Linked DNA regions of Homo sapiens: region 1 is linked to region 2. The links are contacts of gene promoters, found by promoter capture Hi-C in human tissues and cell types (Jung and others, 2019). All regions are on one chromosome and are shown on one strand. Each heading gives the region's core, a stretch centred on a gene start or on the middle of the fragment in contact. The rest is flanking DNA. Distances are from core to core; before and after follow the strand shown.

Region 1 (4,560 bases), core at 471-2,970, 190 kb after region 2:
TGACATTTGGCCGTGATTGACACATGCTCCTCTTTTTATACACTCTGGTAGTTGTATTTTTTTATAAGTGTGAATATTTCCATGCACAGATCAATTTCTTTCACATGTTGCAGAAGGTGCAGGAATTTAGACTTGTCAGGAAAACAAGAGAATCAAACTCAGAAGTCTGCAAAGGTTCTGGCAGAAATCCAGACTGCATTCTTATTCCCAAGGCCTGAAGATGCCCTGTAATCTCTAATATTTGAAATAACCTTTCTAACATGTCGTTCTCATTCTGTGAAACGGGAAAATATAAAAGTAAAATTATTGCTGACATGTAAGATCTCAAACCTTCAACCTAAGATCAGTATTTCCACAGCAGTTTAAATATGTAAGAAATAACTATATTGTTCCCCTTGTTAAAAGCATCTGGATGTTTAGTTCGTTGTTTTAGAGACAAGGTCTTACTCTGTCACTCAAGCTAGAGTTCAGTGGCATGATCATAGCTCACTGCAGCCTTGAACTCCTGGACTCAGGTGATTCTCCCACCTCAGCCTCCTGAGTAGCTAGGAATACAGGCGTATATCACCATGCCTGGTTAATTAAAAAAAAATTTTTTTTTTTTTAGAGACAGGGTCTTGCTACATTGCCCAGGCTGGTCTTAAATTCCTGGCCTCTGGGGTGGTGGCTCACACCTGTAATGCCAGCACTTTGGGAGGCCAAAGGGAGTGCATCACTTGAGGTCAGGAGTTTGAGACCACCCTGGCCAACATGGTGAAACCCCATCTCTATTAAAAACAAAAAAAAAATTAGCCGGGCATGGTGGTGGGCCCCTGTCATCCCAGCTGCTTGGGAGGCTGAGGCAGGAGAATTGCTTGAACCTGGGAGACGGAGGTTGCAGTGAACCAAGATTGCACCACTGCACTCCAGCCTGGGAGACCGAGCGAGACTCCGTCTCAAAAAAAAAAAAAAAAAAAAAAAAAAAAATTTCCTGGCCTCAAGTGATCCACCTACCTTGGCCTTCCAAAGTGTTGGGATTACTGGTATAAGCCATTGCACCCTGCCTGATAAAAAATATTAAGATATAATGATTGTCCCACCTCATGGTTTACATAGAAGTCTTATGATTGAATTGCTTTTGGAAATAATTGAGGGGAAATATGAATACTTATAATTCTGATACACATTCACCAAATGCCTTCCATATGCCATGAACTGTGGTACAAAGATGGATAAAACAAAATTCCCACTTGATCATTTTATTTGCCAACATCAATACTTATTAATTCATCTTGTTTCAATTTCTTGGAAAACAAAAGTTATAAAAAAAAAATCTTTATGGAAGTAAAAATTTTCTCCTAAAGATGTCCATGCTGGCAGTGAGGCCTCATCAAAGGCTTCCCAAACAGAGTCATAGAGTATATGTAGAATCAGAAGCTCCCACTTTGTGCTGAAAATGATAGGAAGTAGGGTGTCAGGGATCCACATATAAATTCTGCAGGTGTGAGTAAAAAACCAGTAAAACAGTTGGGGGCGGGGGAGTCCATTAGCCCAGGGAAGAAGTGAGTGCAACATTCATGGAAATTTGGGGAAGAGATGCAGGCCTTCAGCAGTTCCCTTTTCTTGGGAGATGTATGCACCTCATGAGGCTTGTTGAGAAATAGAAGCAAGCAGGACTCTTGGGAAAGGGTCATTCTTAGTCCTGCATATCAAAGTGATGTGACGTTTACTACCTATCCATAATGTGTTGGACACCATGGACAATAAAGAGGAGAGACGTGGCCTTTTGCCTCTGGGAATTTCACATGTAATAAAAAATAGATTTTTCAAACAGCGGTGTATTTGCATAAAAGAAAAATATCAGCCAACCTACAAACTGCCTCCTCTCTCACCCGCAGAATTTCCACAGGCACAATAGAGGGCACTACGTGCCAGATGTACTGTGAGCCCTCTCTTCCTTCTGTCTGGTGGTGTTCTAGGTTCAGTACTGGCAAAGCTTCAATGGTTTCCAAATAAGGTCGGGAACGCCCCTCTGCCCCCACCTCTTTCCGTCTGTGCAAGTGAAGAGAACTTGTATGAAGTCCCTTTCCTTTGTCCTGCAGAAAAGGTTGGGGATGAGGTATGAGAATCTGTTTTGATATAAACTCGTAAAAGAAGTTTGGAAGGCAGCATCCTTCCATGTGCTGCGCACGCCATCGGCCACAGCTGTTACTAAACTGCTGCCATGTGAAGCCACTCTGCTGATTAATAGCAGCTATGTTCACTTAAAGCACAATTCATAAAGAGTGTAATAATGTGGTTCAGAAACCTTTGCTATTTTTTCCACTCTTGATAGATTAAAATGTACCTCCGATAAACAGTGAAGTCCGTGAATAAGATCTCAGAGGGCCCAAATAACCTTAAGTAAATTTGCACCGCCAGTCTTTAAATTTTCTTGTTATGGAACGAGGGATAACAAGACTACCTATGTTTCAGGGACATTGTGAGGATGAACTAATGCAAGTGGAGTGCTTAGCACAATGCCTGGCACTTAAAAGGTACTCCATAAATGCTCATTATTTACTAAGAGAGAAAGACAAAGATGGGGAATTAAAGTTTACCAAAAAAAATGAGTTCAGCATTTCATTTGTGTCTCTCATATGTATATGTGAATATACACTCTGTGTGTGTGTGTGTGTTTGGCTATTTAAAGACTTCTGAATTGGAAGCATGGAGATCAGAATTATAGCCTTTCTTTTGCTATGCATTAACTAGCTATGTGAATTTTGCAAAATGATATAAACTCTCTGGGTCTCAAATAAGCCCTTCTGCAAAATAAAAGGGTTAGGGTAGATGATTTCAAAGGTTTCTTTAGGCTATACAGTGTTATGGGTTTGCATCTATGTAATGTGATTCAAGGTTCAAGAATCTATTCTGCTACTGCATTTGATTTTTTTTTTTTTTTTTGAGACGGAGTCTCACTCTGTCGCCCAGGCTGGAGTGCAATGGTGCGATCTCGGCTCACTGCAACCTCCGCCTACCGGGTTTAAGCGATTCTCCTGCCTCAGCCTCCCGAGCAGCTGGGACTACAGGCACATGACACCACAACCAGATAATTTTTGTATTTTTAGTGGAGATGGGGTTTCACCATATTGGCCAGGCTGGTCTCGAACTCCTGACCTCGTGATCCACCTGTCTCGGCCTCCCAAATTGCTGGAATTACAGGTGTGAGGCACTGCGCCCGGCCTGATTTTTAAAATATATTATTTTTTACTCTTCCTTATTCCAACAATTCAAAATAAATATTTTGTATCTTTATTATGGATCTATCTTCCCAGGTATCTGATGTAAAATTTAGTTGGCAAAAATTGTCAGATGGAAAACTTGTATTAATTTTGTTCACAAATCTTAGTAATCTCAAGACTGTTGGTTTTCCATTTGGCTGTAAGTTGTTTTCGTATAACTCTATGAGTATTGAAGCATTTTCTAGGCATGTTTTGAACGAACTCTGTTCCAGATCTCTAGACTCAAACATGGAAGATTCTTTTCCTTCCAAGCTTCATAAAAGCAGCTAATTATTCAAATGCAGGTGTCTGTAAATTTAATAGAAAGCATAATGTTTCCATTAACAATCTGAAGACAGTTGGCAGTTTCTCTCAATTCATTAATCTGTTTACATTTATCATATGAAATTTTTCTTGGTATTTCTCATGCTAATGAAAAACATATTGGACAAAAAACATAAACCCACCAGTTACCAACAGAGGAAAATCACTTTAGCTGTGCCCCTTCTTAAGAAGATGGCCCATTGGGAGCTGTGACTCCCTCATCTTTTCTGGTTAGTTTTCAAGTATTAGAATCCATATACACAAAAGGGTATCCAGTGGTCCTCTGTGTCTTGGGGCTTTTTTCCTTCCTCCAAGAGAGTGGTTCTGTAAAGTGGGAGCACATATATTTAACAAGCTTGTAAGTGAGTCGTTTTCCCAGCTGGGAAATCATGAGGTCAGTTCTCTCATTCTCTGCCTTTTTGGAAATAGTTAACCTCACTTTGAAAATTGAAGTCAGCATTAGAATGAAGGAAGGAAGAAAGGAAGGAAAGAGGGCAGGAAGGAAGGAAAGAAGGAATAGAAAGTGTATTAGAGTTTTTTATTTTCTATTTATAATTGCAAACACCTAGAAAGGGTGTATTCTGATAAATTGAAAGTCTTTTTCTTTTCCTTACTGACTACTTGGGTGGATATAGGTACACCCACAGCTGAGGAGAGCTGAAGATTTTGGAGTTCCTGAAGTACTAAAGGAGAGAAGAGATAGGGGAGGGGAGGAAAACAGGGCTGGACACGGTAGGAAGTTCTGCAGGCTTTGGGGTTGGGGATAAGGCCATCTTGTTCAGTTCTCAAGGGCCAGGGACTTAGGAATAAAAGAGTGAGCAGCTCCTTGCATACTTATAATTCCTTACTTTGTAAAAAACTGTATTTTTTTCCTGTTATATTGTAAGTTGAATGAGGACAGAGATGGTGTCTGTTTTGTTCACCACTGTACCTGGAACAATTCCTCAGCTCAACATATATTTGAGAAAGGAAGAGTAACAGGTTTGAGTGCTTA
Region 2 (5,084 bases), core at 1-2,500:
CTAGATGGGTCCGTGGGCCGGAGGGCTTTTCCGCTAGCTACAGTGAATCTGCTTCACCACGAATGGGTTTCCCCATTCAAAACCACCTCCACCCCTGTGTCAAGGCTGCGCTCCATTTATCTGAGCGGTCAAGGTCAGCCCCTGGCTCACACACCTTCGAGTCCCCTCCCCCGCGCAGCTGGCGCAGGATCCAGGACGGCAGGACGGTGTGGCCTTAGGGAGGGCCAACGGCTGCCTAACGTCCTGTGCCCACCCCGCCCCGCCCCACTGTCCCCTGAAAGCCTGGCGCCAATGACCCGCGAGACATTTTTTGCCTGGGGTGCTCCTGTCGGAAAGGAAAGAGGAAAGGACGACTAAGAACTTATACTCGAACTCCCGAATTTCTCTTTTCAAGGTTTAAGAGGAAAGCTGGTTCGTGGGGATTGGATGGGAGGCCACCAGGAAACCAAGTTCCCGCGCCAGCTTCAGTGCTCTCCTCTTCCCGCCGCCTTTGCCCCGCCCACATCACTTTCGCTCCAGTTTTTGAAAACGCTGCGAAGCGGAATGGTCCACAGGGGAAAACGGAGGAGGGGCCAAAGCCAGGACTTTGAGACCGGCGCGCGGTCAAGCCCAGGCAGCTCTCCCTAACCCTCCAGCACTGGGCAAACGCTGCCCGATGACGCCCGCCTCGGGGGCCACGGCATCACTGGGGCGACTGCGAGCCCGGCCGCGGAGCCGCTGGGACGCGGCTTACCTCCCGGCTGTCGCTGCTGTGTGTGTTGCCCGCGCCAGTCACGTCCCTAATGGGACCCTCCGTTTCGGCGTCTGTAAGGCGAGGAGGACGATGCGTCCCCTCCCTCGCAGGATTGAGGTTAGGACTAAACGGGGTCCGCAGCGCCCGGCAGCTCCCGAGCGCTCTCCCCAGCCGCGCCTCCCTCCTTCCCGCCACCCGTCCCGCAGGGGCCCGCGGCGTCACCTCTCAGGCTGTAGCGCGCCTGCATGCCGAATACCGACAGGGTGCCGGTGCCCGTGCGGTCGTCCTTCCTGACGCCGCAGCGGAGGATGTGTTGGATCTGCCCCAGGTACTGCAGCTCCCCGTGCGGCGGACGCGGCTCGGCGTCCCGCTCCTGTGCGGCGGGGGGCAAGGGCCGGCGCGGCAGCTCCGAGCCGGCCACAGGCATGGCGCGGCGGGCGGGGGACGGAGGCAGGCGAAGTGGCGCGGCGGGACGGAGGCAGGCCAAGTGGCGCGGCGGGACGGAGGCAGGCCAAGTGGCGCGGTGGCAGGACCCCTTCCGCGCGCCTTTTCCCGCGGCCGTCCCGCGCTCCGCCTCTTCCTGCTCGGCGGGGTCGCGGCGGCCCCCGCTCTAGAGAGCGTGCGCCAGGGGGAAACGCAGGAGCCACGGGTGTGGCACAGAACGGAGCCCAGGGCCACAGCTGAGAGTCTTAGGAAACCCGGGAACCTGGATGCAGGTGCGGTGGCTGGGAAGGACTGCGCCCTTTGGGAACCGTCTGGTCGACCGCGCCTTCTCTAAGCCAGCAGCACAGTTCCCACGTTTTCCTGCGGTCTTGTCAACAAAACTGCTGTTTGAGATCTGTTTCCTACAACTAATAAGGGATTTGCATTTCCATTTCTTCGTTCTCACTGAAGCAACCGAAGCAAGTGGTATAATGCAGCTTTTCTACTTGATTAAAAACCGCCAGGGCGCTGGACGCGGTGGCTCACGCCTGTAATCCTAGTACTTTGGGGGGCCGAGGCGGGTGGATCACCTGAGGTCAGGAGTTCAAGACCAGCCTGGACAACATGGTGAAACCCCCGTCTCTACTAAAAGTACAAAAATTAGCTGGGCGTGGTGGCTACTTGGGAGGCTGAGGCAGAAGAATTGCTTGAACCTGGGAGGCAGAGGTTGCAGTGAGCCAAGATCCGACCATTGTACTCCAGCCTGGGCGACAGAGCAAGACTGTCCCAAAAAAAAAAAAAAAAAAAAAAAAAAGACCGCCAGGGCTTTTCCGAGGTTTTTTGTTTGAGCCCTGGCGGTCTTTTTTTTTTTTTTTTGAGACAGAGTCTCGCTCTCTCACCCAGGCTGGAGTGCAATGGTGCGATCTCGGCTCACTGCAACCTCCGCCTCCTGGGTTCAAGCAATTCTGCTGCCTCAGCCTCTCGCGTAGCTGGGACTACAGGCGCCGCCACCACGCCCGGCTAATTTTTTTTTTTCATGTTTAGTAGAGACGGGGTTTCGCCATGTTAGCCAGGCTGGTCTCAAACTCCTGACCTCAGGTGATCCACCCACATTGGCCTCCCAAAGTGCTGGGATTACAGGCGTGAGCCACCGCACTCGGCCCCAAGTTTTTAATAGACCACATTTCCCAGTTTTACTGAATTGTTTATAACATTAACACTGGGGAGTGGGAACTGTTGATGAAAAGAGTTAAACTCTGTAAAATATCTGAAGAAATTTATTCTGAGCCAAATATGAGTGACCAATGGCCGGTGATAGAGCCCTCAGCAGATCCTGAGAACATGTCCCCAAGGTGGTTGGGCTACAACTTGATTTTTTATACATTTGGTTGAAAGAATTGTTATCTAAAGATCTGGAATCAATAGAGGGCTGGGCGCGGTGGCTCACGCCTGTAATCCCAGCACTTGGGAGGTCGAGGCGGGCAGATCACGAGGTCAGGAGATTGAGACCATCCTGGCCAACATAGTGAAACCCTCTCTACTGAAAATACAAAAATTAGTGGGGCGAGGTGGCACACGCCTGTAACCCCAGGTACTCAGGAGGCTGAGGTAGGAGAATCGCTTGAACCCAGGAGGCGGAGGTTGCTTGCAGTAGCTGAGAAAGCGCCACTGCACTCCAGTCTGGGTGACAGAGCCGTATGGGGAAAAAAAAAAAAAAGATTTGAATGAATAGAAAGGAATATCTGGGTTAAGATAAGGGGTTGTGGAGACCATGGATTCATCATGCAGATTAAACCTCCAGGTAGCAGGCTTTAGAGAGATAGATTGTAAATGTTTCTTGTCAGACTTAAAGAGTGTGTTCTACCTGTCTTGAGGCCTGTGTTGATGTCAATGCTGGTCAGCTGTGCCTAAATTCCAAACGGAGGAGGGAATAATGAGGCATGTCTGGCTCCCCTTCCCATCATGGCCTGAACTAGTTTTTGTGGTTAAATTTGGAATGCCTTTGACCCAGAGGAGTGGTCTTTTCAGATGGTTCTGGGCGTAGAATTTTATTTTTGGTTTACAGAACGATTTTATAATGAGTTTAAAATGCACTGATACATGTGTTGTACTTGCAAGCATCCTTTTACCTCAACGGTTGATTGAGTACAGAGGTGCTCTCAGCATTTTGGGTGGGACTTTTCTTAGCTGGACCGGTTTGTTCTGCACATTGCAGGGCTTTAGCAGGACTGTGGAAAGCCAACCATATGTTGGCATTCCCCCACCCCACACCAGCTGAAAACTGTCCCTACACGTTTCCCTACACGTTTCCGAGCACGAGGAAGATCCCAGGCTGAAAATATTCCAGATTATCCAGATGCACGTTATCTGTGTTTAATTTCCTTGTGTTATTCTTTTTCCTTTTTTTTTTTTTTTTTTTTTTTTGAGGTGGAATCTTGCTCTGTCCCTCAGGCTGCAGTGCAGTGGTGCTCAGCTCACTGCAAACTCCGCTGCATGGGTTCAAGCAATTCTGCCTCAGCCTCCCAAGTAGCTGGAACTATAGGCGCCTGCCACCATGCCCAGCTAATTTTTTTTTCTTTTTTTTTTTTTTTGCATTTTTAGGAGAGACAGGGTTTCACCATGTTGGTCAGGCTTGTCTCAGACTTCTGATCTGAAGTGATCTGCCCACCTCGGCCTCCCAAAGTGCTGGGATTAAAGGCGTGAGCCACCATGCCCAGCCTTACTTGTGTTATTTTTTAAAAACCTGATACATAATAATTGTGAGGTAGACAGGGCTTGACTCTGGAGGCAGGGCTCTGACATGGGACCAAATTGAGGAGTAGTCAAAACAAGGATGGGGCAGAAGTAGTTTTCCATAAGACGTGCCCACCAGTGTGCCATGTCAGTTTACGATTGTCATGGCAACATCCAGAGCTTACTGCCCCTTTCCATGGCAGTGAGCCGACAACCGGAAGTTACCACCCTTTTTCTAGACATTTCTGCATAATCTGCCCCTTAATTTGCATGTAATTGAAAGTAGGTTATAAATATCACTGCAGACCTGCCTTTAAGCTACTGCTGTCAGCACACTGCCTATAGGGTAGCTCTGCTCTACAGGGGCACTCAGGGAGCTGTTGCCATATCAGTAGAGCTTTTCTTCTACCAGGTAGCTCTTAAATTCTTTCCTGAGCAAAACCAAGAACCCTCCTGAGCTAAGCCCAATTCTGGGCTCACCTGCCCTGCATCAGTTGCACATCCTTGTGTGTTTTTTTTCTTTCTTTCTTTTTTTCTTTTCGACGGAGTCTCGCTCTGTCACCCAGGCTGGAGTGCAGTGGCAGAATCTCAGCTCACTGCAACCTCTGCCTCCCAGGCTCAAGCAATTCTCCTGCCTCAGCCTCCCGAGTAACTGGGATTACAGGCACCCATCACCATGCCCAGCTAGTTTTTGTATTTTTAGTAGAGATGGAGGTTCACCATGTTAGCCAGGCTGGTCTCGAACTCCTCACCTGAAGTAATCTGCCTGCCTCGAGCCTCCCAAAGTGCTGGGATACAGGCGTGAGCCACTGCACCCGGCCCCTTGTGTTATTTTGAGGCTGGTTTATTTGTTTCACCCAAATACCAGCTAAATCACATCTCAAGACTAGGCTCCTCTGCCCACATGGAGCTTCCACTTCTGCTGCCTTCCTTGAGTATCTTGGCTTGATAGTAAAGACAGAATGGTTCTTTTCAAAGTAGTTACTCCATAAATGTTGGTTAGAATGAATGGTTCTCTCAGACAAATTTCATTCATTCATTCATTAACACACATTTATATCATGGTGCCTTCCTCATGTCTACAAACAGCAAGACAGACAAGGCCCTTTTCTTCATAGAACTGATATTCTGGCAGTGACAAACACTACAAAAGTAACCAAACAAGACATCTGCAGATAGTGACAAGTGTGATGAT

What was found. The method cuts DNA at HindIII sites, captures the fragments that hold promoters and counts their contacts. A contact is called where the count stands out against the background at its distance.
Region 1: a fragment that was not itself captured here is called in contact with the fragment with the promoter of TYMS in region 2 in 2 of the 25 tissues and cell types used here (mesendoderm cells and spleen).

The regions. Positions count from the first base shown.
Region 1 is chr18:466,627-471,186 of GRCh38, reverse strand. The region is part of intron 2 of COLEC12 (collectin subfamily member 12); the gene reads left to right. Among named protein-coding and RNA genes, the nearest start is that of COLEC12, 32 kb to the left of the region's middle. The HindIII fragment of the contact is 6,644 bases long and covers 1-4,560 here.
Region 2 is chr18:653,819-658,902 of GRCh38, reverse strand. It overlaps TYMS (thymidylate synthetase), which reads right to left and starts at 1,250. Exons shown (of 7, transcript NM_001071.4): 1 at 956-1,250. The coding sequence starts at 1,160. TYMSOS (TYMS opposite strand RNA) reads left to right here and starts at 612. Exons shown (of 2, transcript NR_171001.1): 1 at 612-1,061. RefSeq lists enhancers at 538-657, 525-1,024, 1,025-1,526 and silencers at 888-937, 1,108-1,287. The HindIII fragment of the contact is 10,369 bases long and covers 1-5,084 here.